3 separate regions of the Homo sapiens genome follow, and regions 1 and 2 are each linked to region 3. Evidence: promoter capture Hi-C in human tissues and cell types (Jung and others, 2019). All regions are on one chromosome and are shown on one strand. The core of a region is centred on a gene start or on the middle of the fragment in contact, and the rest is flanking DNA. Distances in the headings are between cores, read along the strand shown.

What was found. The method cuts DNA at HindIII sites, captures the fragments that hold promoters and counts their contacts. A contact is called where the count stands out against the background at its distance.
Region 1: a contact is called between a fragment that was not itself captured here and the fragment with the promoter of FGF20 in region 3, in 1 of the 25 tissues and cell types used here (stomach).
Region 2: a fragment that was not itself captured here is called in contact with the fragment with the promoter of FGF20 in region 3 in 2 of the 25 tissues and cell types used here (H1 embryonic stem cells and dorsolateral prefrontal cortex).

Annotation. Positions count from the first base shown.
Region 1 is chr8:16,808,761-16,813,558 of GRCh38, forward strand. The region is part of intron 2 of LOC105379297 (a long non-coding RNA gene); the gene reads right to left. Among named protein-coding and RNA genes, the nearest start is that of FGF20, 190 kb to the right of the region's middle. The HindIII fragment of the contact is 6,554 bases long and covers 1-4,798 here.
Region 2 is chr8:17,159,646-17,162,513 of GRCh38, forward strand. The region is part of intron 1 of ZDHHC2 (zDHHC palmitoyltransferase 2); the gene reads left to right. Among named protein-coding and RNA genes, the nearest start is that of ZDHHC2, 4.6 kb to the left of the region's middle. The HindIII fragment of the contact is 5,380 bases long and covers 1-2,868 here.
Region 3 is chr8:17,001,095-17,006,094 of GRCh38, forward strand. It overlaps FGF20 (fibroblast growth factor 20), which reads right to left and starts at 1,251. Exons shown (of 3, transcript NM_019851.3): 1 at 653-1,251. The coding sequence starts at 938. RefSeq lists a silencer at 768-837. The HindIII fragment of the contact is 12,794 bases long and covers 1-5,000 here.

The DNA.
Region 1 (4,798 bases), core at 1,154-3,653, 190 kb before region 3:
AATCTCATGTAAAGTAAACAAAAAGGGAATATTTTTAAAGAAGCAAGGTATATTATGCTTTTCGGAATTCTGTAATATCAGTTTAATTGGGCCTTTGGTATACGGACCAGGGTGTATATGTCTATATCTACACAGACTGTCCCCAGCTTATGATGGTTTAACTCAAGCTCATCCAACCTGCAGCCCATAGGCTGCATGAAGCCCAGGACGGCTTCGAATGTGGCCCAACATAAATTGGGCCTTCTTAAAACGTTACAAGATGTTTTCGAGCTTTCTTTTTTTTTTTTTTTTTTTTTTTTTTTTTTTTAGCTTATCAGCTATTGTTAGCGTTAGAGTATTTTATGTGTGGCCCAAGACAATTCTTCTTTCAATGTGGCCCAGGGAAGCCAAAAGATTTGACACCCCTGATTTAACTTAACAATTTTTCAACTTTATGATGGTGCAAAAGCAATACACATTCAGTATAAACTGCACTTCGACTACTCATGCAACCATTCCGTTTTTCATATTCAGTACAGTATTCAATACATCACATGAGCTATTCCACACTTTATTATAAAATAGACTCTCTATTAGATGATTTTGCCCAACTGTAGGCTAATGTTAATGTCCTGAGCACGTGTAAGGTCAGCCCATTTAAACTATAATGTTCACTGGCTACATGTATTCAATACATTTTCAATTCACAATATTTTGAACTTGACAATAGATTTATCAGGACATAACCCCATTGTAAGAAGAGGAGCATCTGTATGTCTATAAATAGATAATATATGTATATGGATATAGACACCTATATTTAAATATATACAGGCAATCTGTATATGAAATTGATAGATATAAGATATTCATGCACACATAATCACCTGCCAGATTATAGCAATACCAATTTGAAATTTTAGGTACTACTTGTTTAACTGGGAAGCAATTTTCTAACCTACACAAACGAGAAAACACTAAATGAAAAGTTAGATCTGCACAAAACCCAAGTTTATAATTATACTGTGATAAAGTCAATTTTAACCATTCAGTGATTTAAATGACTAATACAAAATGTCTCACAGCCTTTGTGATCAAGCTACTGAAAATAAATCATTTTATTTACAGCTATCCTCCTTATCCAAATCAGTGCCAGAAATATTGTAGGAGATCAAGACATTACTGTAGAAAGAAAAGTTTTCAACCAGATAGAGGCATCCACTGGCAAAAAATGAATATGCTAACTATAAACAATTTTGAACTATTTATTCAAACAAGAACCGCTGTATGCCCTGCCTTTAAGTCTCTAAGTCACTTAAGAGTCAGGCTATACCTGTAAGTAGTTTGACAAATTTTTTTTGTTTTTCTAAATTTTTTAATATAGATTCTCTTTCCTTCCTCAAGGCACCCCAAATTAATGAGGTCCTGCAATTATTCATACTGCAAATATATGACGACATTCTGTTTATACTATTGTCATGGAGTAAATGATGGCATAAGCATCAATATATTTTATTATTCTAATGTGTGATTACTCAAACATTTATGTCAGAGACACACTCAACAGAATGAAAGAAAAATGTGATGACTGCTGACTTGCATGAAATATTCTGTATTAAATTATCCCATGGGGGTAGCCTACACAGCAGCTAAGAAATCCTTGAATTATTAAGGAAACAGTTATTTCTTTCATGATTTCTCAAGAATTTGGGTTTCTACATTTTAATAACCTTCGAAAGTGATTTTTTTAATTTAATGGAAATCTGAGTATAGTCTTAGAATCCTAAAAGGATGTGTGTGTATATATATATACACACACACACATATACATTAAAGGAAAAACAGTATATTCAATGATAAGATTCGCATTTAGATTAAACTGTCAATTTTAATTGTGTCTTTGCAGGACAATGAAAGTTTTTTTTTAATGTTCGTTTACACTATCAATAGCACAAAACCTTCCTGATTTTCTTCGGTCTTACATTCAGTTAAAAAAATATGATTTTTATATTGTAATTTTTGCAATAAAGATATTTTTCTACAATGTAGAAATCTGTCTATAGCAGCACTCTTCAGCTAAATAAAAATAGCTATTGTTTCTACTGCAAAACCCACATAATACAACGCGTTTTCTGCATTTTCTGAACCAAGTCTCTAATAAGAAACAAACATCTAAGATTACCATTAAACATAGATACGTTTTGAAAGAGACTAATCTTGCTTGAGTCAAATTAAATAGGGTTAGACATGAAGGTCCACGTGAATGGTCTACTTCCTGTTCTGTCTCAAGCAAAGTACCTGCCTAGTGCAGTTCTGAGTCTGCAGCTGTCCTCTTCCCCCGAGTCTGACTGATGAAGGAGTCTTTTGTTCTACCGATAAGTGATACATTGTGTATTGCTCAGGTGCCTTGAACAAAAAGTACAGGGCAACACAATGAGCTTCTCTACAGCCAGCTTTAAGAAGACGAAGAATAAAAGTAAAACTAGCTTTACCTGAGATGTGTACTTTTCAATGAAACTTTCCTTTCCCATTCTAAAGGAAAATATCATTTTGTGTGTTTATAAAAGCTTATTCTATAGTTTGTCCCTCACCCCCCACATCCCGATTCTGTGATAAAAGCAACAGGAACAGAGGTTCTCTTTTATTAAAATGGTTAATTTGGGTGAATTGCTGGCTTTTTGAAGGGGATTGTTGGAGTGACTTTATCTGAGCTAAGTTGCCTCACTTAATGTGTCTAAACAATCAGATATAGTCATTTAAATAACCATCGATTCTATTATTTATCAATGTAGAAGGAAGATATTTAAATCTTTTTTATATGTTCTTAAATTCACCTAATTTTTTCCTTTTTTCAACATATTTCTAAATGCAAAAATATAAATATATAAATAAATCATTTAATAATATTTTTAAAGCCTACAATTTTTTTTTTTTTTTTTTGAGTCAGAGTCACCTAGGCTGGAGTGCAATGGCGTGATCTCGGCTCACTGTAACCTCCACCTCCCGGGTTCAGATGATTCTCCTGCCTCAGCCTCCCAAGTAGCGGGGACTATAGGCGCCTGCCACCACGCCCAGCTGTTTTTTGTATTTTTAGTAGAGACGGGGTTTCACCATGTTGGCCAGGCTGGTCTCAAACTCCTGACCTCATGATCTGCCTGCCTCGGCCTCCCAAAATGCTCGGATTACAGGCGAGAGCCACCGTGCCCGGCCAAGAATGTTTTTAAAATTAATGTAGGATATATAATTTACTTGGTGAAGTCATGTTTTTTATTTAAATAAAATATTTGCATTTTTCTAGAGATATTCTTAAATCACAATGTAAAAAAGCATTCAATAAAATATTTGTATTTTTCTAGAGACATTCTGAAACTACAAAGTAAAATAGCATTCAATAAAATATTTGTATTTTTCTGGAGATATTCTGAAACCACAATATAAAAAAGCATTCAATAAAATATTGTATTTTTTAGAGATATTCTCAAACCACAATATAAAAAAGCATTCAATAAAATATTTGTATTTTTCTAGAGATTCTGAAACCACAATGTATAAAAGCATTCAATAAAATATTTGTATTTTTCTAGCGACATTCTGAAACCACAATGTAAAAAAAAACATTCCTGGGGGCGGGGGGGACAGTAACATTTCTTTTTCAACTCTCCTTTGACCAGTAGAGCATGATGCCCATCAGGGACATTTTGGCTTGACCCAAATGGTGTGTGCAGATTCTAGCTACTATAAACCACACTGTTCTATGGCTTGACAAGTCCACTTCATCAAGAAAAAAAAAAATGCACTACATTATTGATGATTATCACAGCAATTGCATGGATTAGTGCCGTCACTGAGTTTTTCTCATCCATCTTCCACACCAGGTTATTACATTTATATGATTTACAAATCTGTGATTCTTAGAATCACTAAAATCAGTACAGAAAGTGTTCAATATAGCATTTCCATCTTTGGTAAGTTCACAAAATATTTGTTGGATAATGAATAAAAGGCTCTCCAACATTGTGACTTTATATGCTGTGTTTCCAATGGCTCCTTAAACCTTTTAGATGCACCACTGGCATTATTTGCTGTGTTATAAAATCTATTAAATGTTTACACACTTTTTTTTTTTTTGAGACAGAGTTTCACTCTTCTTGCCCAGGCTGAAGTGCAATGGCTCCATCTTGGCTTACTGCAACCTCCGTCTCCCGAGTTCAAGCGATTCTCCTGCCTCACCCTCCCTAGTAGCTGGGATTACAGGCGCCCACCACCAGGCCAAGCTAATTTTTTTGTATTTTTAGTAGAGACGGTTTCACCATGTTGGCCAGGCTGGTCTTGAATTCCTGACCTCAAGTAATCCGCCCGCCTCGGCCTCCCAAAGTGCTGGGATTACAGGCGTGAGCCACCGAGTCCAGCCAGTTTACATACATTTCAACACAGTATAAGTATGTATCAAATGTTTGTACACTTTATATGTAAATGCTTGGTGGGCAGAATTTATATGTTTTATTAACCTATAAATCACAAGAGCCTATAACAGAGCCTGGCAAACAGTGGTGCAATATTTGCTTAAGTAATTGATAATTAATTGGCAATGAGATGGTAAATACAGACCTTAAGGTTATGTAGAAGATTCTATAATTTCCACCTAGTCAAATACTGAATATTAATACTAATTTTGTTTATTATTTTATTCTTAATTCTACCCAAAATAAACTAAATATTTTTTATTTCTTTTACATGGGATTCCAAGTTCTACAATAAATTGGGATATCACAGAGAGGTGATGGTATCATTTTCTAGAATTTTCCTTCTAGAGACCCTC
Region 2 (2,868 bases), core at 369-2,868, 160 kb after region 3:
TAACCTCTCTTTTTGGAATATGTGTATATGTAAAATATATGGGATGTACATATATTGTGTGAGAGTCAAGTATTTTTGGTTAAGTCAGCTTCCTATTCTGCCAAAGAAAAGATCACAAAAGACAGTTATACTTCTAATCATTTGGACCACGTTTATCTCGTTTGTTGATTAACGAGGCTCTTCTATTTGTATTCCTCCCCCTCCATCCTTTCCTTCTCTTACCACTCCTTTTCCCTCTCCCCTGTCCCTCCTGTCCCTCTCTCCACTCCTGGCTTCTTTTGTGTTTTAACTCTCTTTGCTCTCTTTAGATATTAGGTTGGTTTCCGTCAAGTAAGATAAACTCAAAGGTAACATTTGTACGGGGAACTTTAGGATGCACTATGAGAGGGAATGAGGGAGGTCTGCAGCCTCAGGCATGCTCCATTCAGCGAGCACACGACGTGGTTTATGTTTTACAGATCCCTTATGGCTGCTGCTGTGTTAACTTCGCTTGTTGAAGAAGGTTCACTGAAGTTTCCCCTTTTAAGTGCTAACATTTAAATTGTTTTAACTATTTCATACCGTTTTCTTTATTTCAGATTTACTGAAAAGTTTCAATAGTACAAGAAACTTCCACATACACTTGTGTAACCAGTTCAGTTCCCATTTTTCTTAAATATATTACTTTCCTGCTCCTTAGGCAGGTGCTATGGGACGTTTATGATGATGTTGCGCAGTCATGTAGTTCTGAATTTGCTTACGGTTTTAGTTACGTCATTTTAAACGATCATGAATTTTCAAAAGCTTAAAGGTCATCCAGGCTAACCCCTTCTGTATTTTTAAACGAAAGAGTTAAACTAAATTCCAGAGTTGCCACAAGTTCAATGTCCTTCCTCCGAGTTACCTAGCGGAGGTGTCAGCTATGACCTTAGCTGCTGTAATGCAGATGTCCAGATGTCTCCTTTTCCCAGCAAACCCCTCTCCAAATATCTTAGCCCATTGAAGTTATGCAGCAACTCTTTTTAACTTTATTATCGTTTACAGAGAGTTGACAGAGCTCTGAAAATAAGCCAACAGTCTTTACACAATTTTAGAGATTTAAAGGGCTTTGTAGTTTGGGGCTATATAGTACATATTTTTGGCTTTGCAAGCCGTGTGATCTCTGTTCCAACCACTCAACTCTGCTATCTTAGAGAGCGGCCATAGAAGATACTTTAACAAATGGGCGTGGCTTTTATTCAACAAAAATATTTGGCCAATCTTGGCCCTTGGGCAAAAGTTTGCTGAGCTTTGGAGTATGTGGGAAGCTAGACCACTAGAATCTTGAGGTTTTACTCGCAGTTTTGCTGTCTTTATTACTAAACATCCTTCAGCAGTGATTGCAGCCTGTTATATTCCACAGTGATTATAATACTTAGGGATCAGTTTGAGAGATACGCTGCCATGTTTTCATTCTTTTAAACAAACAAGAAAACAAACATCCCTAAGAACAAAATACACAAAGCCTCCTACTTGGATTCTGTGAAGTTATGACCTACCATTCATTGAAGGCCACTGCAGGCTCAAGGATAGAGACTGCTGGGGCTGTCAGTTGTTTTCCACCATGAAATGAATTTGAGCTACACAGAAGAAGAAATGTTTTCTTGTTATTGATTTTAAACTGTTGCTTTATATTATTAATATCTTGATATTCCTGATACTTAAACTATTACTTTAAAAACTGTGTAGGACAATAAAGCATTTTTCACAAAAAAAGAACAGGCAGTAGATCTTGGGAATACAGATGTTCTATTAAGTTGATGCAAAAGTAATTGCAGTTTTTGCCATTAGTTGGTTTTGCCAACTGTTTTAAATATTAAAATAGTTTTAAGTGGAATGTAAGGCACATCCATAGAAAACTGATGTATGCAAAACATTTAACGCCTACGTCACCTTAGAAATGATTACTTATTGGCCAGCACGGTGGCTCACCCTTGTAATCCCAGCACTTTGGGAGGCCAAGGTGGGAGGATCACTTGAGGTCAGGAGTTTGAGACCAGCCTGGCCAACATAGTGGAACCCTGTCTCTACCAAAAAATACAAATATTAGCCAGGTGTGGTGGTGCGTGCCTGTAGTCACAGCTGCTCGGGAGGCTAAGGCAGAAGAAATTGCCTGAACCGGGGAGGCAGAGGCTGCAGTGAGCCGAGATCACACCACTGCACTTCAGCCTGGGGTGACAGAGCGAGACCCTGTCTCAAAAAAATAAAAAATAAAAAAAAGAAATTATTAGTTGTTGGCAATATGATTCAAAATATATTCTGTGACTTTTCTTGATATTGTTGAATATTTTAAAGATTTGAATTTATGTGAATAGGGTAATAAAAACTCAACATTTCTTCAAATCAAAAATTCAAATGTATAAAACATGATATGTTCCAAACTCTTGATCCGTGCTCCCATTTTACTTTAATATAAATGGTCAAGTCGGAAAGGGGAGTAAGAGAAAGGACTCTGCTTAATGCTTTTTTGGTTCCATTTAGTGTGTCAGAGACTTCCTTTTCTTTTGATGTACTGGACAATGCAGCATTACTATTTGCTATTAAACCCTATTAGAGAAAAACATTTAAGGCAATTAGCACAGTCTTAGCATGTACAAATGCGCAATAAATGTTGAATGAATTAATCTCATAGTTTCTACTTAGTCTTATTCAATTGTATAATGCAAATAAGTGAGAGGACAGGATCTGGGGTCAAACCTCAGTTTAAACTGAGGCTTATTATGGAAAAGTTCGCTTGCAATTGCTTACTGAGAATGTCATCCATGCCATTAAATTGGTACTTGCAGGAATGTTTCCAGTAATTAAACAGAAGCTGACGGGATGGTTTCTTTATTCAAGATAATTAATTGT
Region 3 (5,000 bases), core at 1-2,500:
GAGGGAACCTCAGACAGGTGAGCCCTACAGGTAGCGAATGTGCCCACGGAAAGTTAATCTGCTACCTCTTCAGGTGAACATTTGCAAGTCTCTAGGTAGACACGTAAATGCTCGCAATCCATGCCCAGAGCAGCCCCGGGTGCATAATCAGCTGCATAACTGTGGGGCATGTTTAAAGAAGCCCGGCGCTTCCTGTTATTAATTTTTGTAAAGTGGACGGCATGGGGGAAAATGAGAAAGGAAATCGGAGAGAAACATACAGGGATTTTTTTTAAAACTGACTGCGAGGTAAGCAGTGCGAGAACCGTGATGCCGAGTGCACCAGGTCTTGGTGTCCCCGGCAGTGGGAAGGGCAAGGGGAAGGCAGGAAGGAGCTTGCGAAGCGCCCACCCTTTCTCCTCCCGCCCCCAGCATCTGGAGCTGCTGCCCTGCTAGAGGCTGCGGCGACAAACCAGCAGGAAAATTTCTCCCCGCGGCTGCTCTGGCCAGCCCTTCAGCCCCAGCCTGCGTCTTGCACCGGATGGGTCCAGGGGAGCTCCGGGCTCCGCGCGGCGATGACGCCCTTGGCAGGCAAAGAGGGAGGTGCAAGGGGAGGGAACGAGGAGCCGAGCTGGGGCGCAGATGGGGGTGGGGTCGGGATGCTAGTACGTACCGAAGAGGCTGTGGTCCTGCCGGGTGCCCTGCACGCTGCCGTCGGGCAGGATCTGCAGGTGGAAGCCGGTGCGGCAATAGAGCTGCCGGCGGCGCAGGATGCCGTGCAGGTGCGCCAGCTGCGCAGCCCCCGGCCCGCCGCGCGCGCTCCGCTCCGCCGCGCTCCTGCGCTCGCCCAGCAGCGGCGGCCGCTCCCCGGCAGGAGGCAACAGGAAATGCGAACCCACCTGCTGGCCCAAGCCCTCCAGGCCGCCCAGAAAGCCCCCGACTTCGGCTAAGGGAGCCATGGAGGGGGAGATCCGGAACACAAAAGACCCCCCCAGTAAAGAGTGTTGTGGGGGTGGGATGGAGGTGGATAGAGAAAAATTATAGCAAAACGAGCGCAAAAAGTTAAGGCCCGGTTACTCCTCTGAGGTCGCTCCGGAGGGACTTTGCACTGAAATGGCAGGGAAGCTCTCACTGTCTTGGAGCGATCTTCTCTCCTTGGGTAGGTGGGAGCCGGCTGCTGGCTCTGCAGAAATATCTATAGCTGCCGCTGCCAATACTAGGACTAGGGCTGTTGGCTGGGGCTCCAATTCCGCAAACTGATCAGATCAGAGTCCTGTGTACATACACACCGAGTATATAAGCGGGTCCTCTTGACATATGCTAATCAAGTCCTTTCATGCGCGCTGGGGAGGTTCTGTTTGAAATCTTAAACCGGTCTCCTCTCAACACGTTTTTGCTCTTCGGAAGTGACCAAAAGGGGCCCTTGGCACTTCTCCATCCATGCCCTCACAAAAACCATTCCTGCACTTGGCCAAAGCCAGCCAGCAACTTCGAGGAGGTGCAGTCGAGGCCCCTCTTTGGGGTTGTCCTTGGGACAGCGGTGATGCTGTTCAGCTGCGGCCGTGCAACCGTCTTTGATGTGAGCTTTGCAGTGATAAATCGCCTCTAAAAGGAGCCCAACTTGGCAGGGATATAGAAGAAGAGGAAGGGAGGAGGGAGGGAAGGCGGGGAGGGAGAGAAAGAGAAGGAGGGCATTGGTAGGAGGAGGAAAGAGAAAAGGAGAATTGGACTCCTTGGGAGCCTGCAGTGGACAGGTGCAAAGAAAGGTAAGCAAGGGAGAAGGAAAAAGGGCGTTACCTGGGGCTTACAGACCTGCCCAGACACACATGAAAGAAAAATCAAAGCTTTGACAGTTTAACTCACTAATTTTAAAACACTAATAAAATGTACAAGCATTGCTCCTTTCTTTTATCATTTAGATGGGGGATTTTCTTTACATAATCAAGGTTAGGTAAGGAACACCCTCCCTCCCCCTCTTTACAATTTCTCTTTAATGTTTACCTTTACTCAGCACATAATATAACCAAAATTGCCATATATATATATACATAATACACATATGTATTTTTAATTGTGTGCTAAGGTCATGAACTTCTAATTAGTGTAAAATAAAGCAAAATATAATCACGAATCAAAGGATTTACAGTAAATCCAAATAGGCTGGAAAGAAATGATTTGCATCTCTATATTTTGCCGTGAATAGAAAATGAATATCTGGAATATTGTCATAAATGATGAGTGGCTTCTTGGGCCCTTATACAATCTAAGAGCACTTTCCTGTTTTTCTTAGTTGCGTTTTTCTAAAAGCTAGATGTTTTTGTTTACATTTTAATTATAAAATCTAAAAATAACTAAATGGAAATAGTCTTGAGGCTTGATGTGTTTTGAGACTTCAAAAGTTACTGGTAAAATTGAAGAGTGCTTGAGCATATTTGTAAAATCAAAAACCATGGAAGCCAAGGAATTAGATACATGTTCATTTAAACGTTGAAACTGGTTTTGCACCACTAGTTAAATTCAAGATCTTTCTGTTAAAATTTTTCAGTGGTAGAAGAATTGAGAATCATTGGGCAGATTTATGCTTCCTCTGAGCAAAAAGTTTTAGGGAACTGATGAAGATTACTTTCTCAGTCTTGTTTCATGATCTGTTTAAAAAAAGCATAAGCCTGGCAGCTCAGTTGGATTTGACTGGTTTATTTTATTTGCTCTGAAGGATTTTTTCTAATTAATTGGCAGGTGCTCTAAAGTGGGTATAGTTACACATTTTCATCACTACAGGCCTAACTACTGACCCTTGTGTAACCAAGTTATAAAAGAGTTCTTAAAGCAAGTGATTTACTGTTGATAGATATGAAATAAAACAAAAACGCTGGCTAAAAACAATAAACAGATAAATCACTTTAGAAACGTATATTGCTAAGTCTGTTTTAAAGGTTGCACCAGGTAAATGTTGTATTATTTCACCTTTCAAATAACAGCAGTCTGTCTTGTGGTAGGACCCCAAATCCACCATAATCAAGGTTTCAAACACATCTGTGTAAACATTATCACATCAGTGTAAAACATCAACCAATGAGCTTTTACTTTGAACCAAATCTTCTTAATTGCAGTGTTAAATCAAAGAAACTTAGATCAAAGTTGTGTGAATCTCGTAGCAGGATAACTGAAGTAGCCAGTACATCCACTGATCACTTTTAAAGAGGAGATACTTAAGGGTTTTAAACTTAGATCAAGTGCCTTTTAATGAGGTTTGTTTCAAGGTCCAAGTTCTGTGCAACATATAATGCTGTTAATTATTCCACAATGGAAATATATTATCATCACCTGCTTCTAAAAGTACTAGTTCAGTCTACAAACTATTTTCCCACATGAACACTTTAGTCCTGCTGTATGAGCTATAGCTGTTAGACTGTTCAAATCTGTTGTATTGCTTATATATATACAAAAAATGGGGAATTTCTTATTCATAGTCATGAAAGTTTAAATACTTTCATAATAGAATCGCCTTCTCTTTGTACACCTTGGTATTTACATGTGTATTACCTTATTTGATCACCACAATGACCATAAGACATAGGCACATCCTGCTTTATAGCGAAAAAATATGGTCCTAAATCCCCGTTTTGCCCAGAGTCCAACATCCCAGGCCAATTTCCTTAAATTCTCTAAATGCTTTTATTTTCTCTTTTGTAAAATAAGGATAATATAACTCCAGCCTAACTACTATGCCTAGAGTTGCCATGAGACTTAAATGTAAAAATATATTGGAAAATGGTTTTAAAACTATAGTTTTCTATGCATAGAATATGCTAGAAAACTCTAGTTGTTGTGAAAATTTTTGCTTTCTAACTTAACAAATATAATTGGTCTGAAATACAAAATAAATCTTTTTTTCCCAAACCAAACCTTTAATGTGTAAGTTTGAATGGTGCTTAATGCTGTTTTATAAAGGACCAGACTAGAAACAAAAAGATAAGAATTTCTTTTGTTTGCACTAGTCATGTGACAGGAAAAGATAACACTAAAGATTTTTTTTTTTTGCACATGCTGTGATGATATCATGGGAAGTTAAATAATTTTGAAGAGTGTTTTACAAGAGTGCATTATTCAACTTTTAAGTATACATTGCAATCTAATCAACTTTACCTATGCTTCCTAGAGACCACACTTGCCTTGCTGTTATACAAATACGTGGTACAACTTCTACTTCCACAAAATGTAGTTTGAGTTTTCCAGACTATATAATCCCTATATAGGTTTTCAGATGATATATTGTCAGGAACCTTTGTTTTTACACATGAGGAGTTCATACCTTTTGAGGCTGCTACATGTGTTCAATATGAGAAAAAGAAATAGAGCTGATTTAATGGTCATGATATACATCTCCAATAAAGTAAGAGTATATTTGCACATTATTCATTATTTATAATTACAAAATATTAGCAACAACATAAATTTCTATACACAGGAAACTGAATAAATTATGGTACATTCACACAATGGAGCATTATACAGCTGACAAAGATGTCTGTGAACGAACATGGAATATTTGCAGGATACACCGTTAAGTGAAAACAGCAAAGAATATATATAGTGTCTGCCTTTTCTGTAAGAAAGAAAAAAATGAGAAACGTCTACATGTATATGCTTATTTATTCTAAAAATAAACACAGAATGGATAAACCAAAAATTAATGAACTTGGTTACCTGGTTAGTTGGTTAGCAGGGGATGGATATGAATGGAGTGGAAGGGTTGGAGGAGTGACATTCATCTGAGAACTTTTTATAGAGTTTTGACTTTTGGAGAAATGTTAATGTTTTACATTTTTTTAAAGTAAAATAAAATAAAATAAATGAGAGAGAAGTGGGGATGGAATAAAAGCAGGAACAAATGAACCTAACTGTATTAAAGTGAGTAATATAACCACACATGAGGGATGAATAACATATTAAAAAAAAGAAAGAAAGAAACTCAAATAACTATCAAATTCTGTCTTTTGATGATATAACCAAGATCTAAA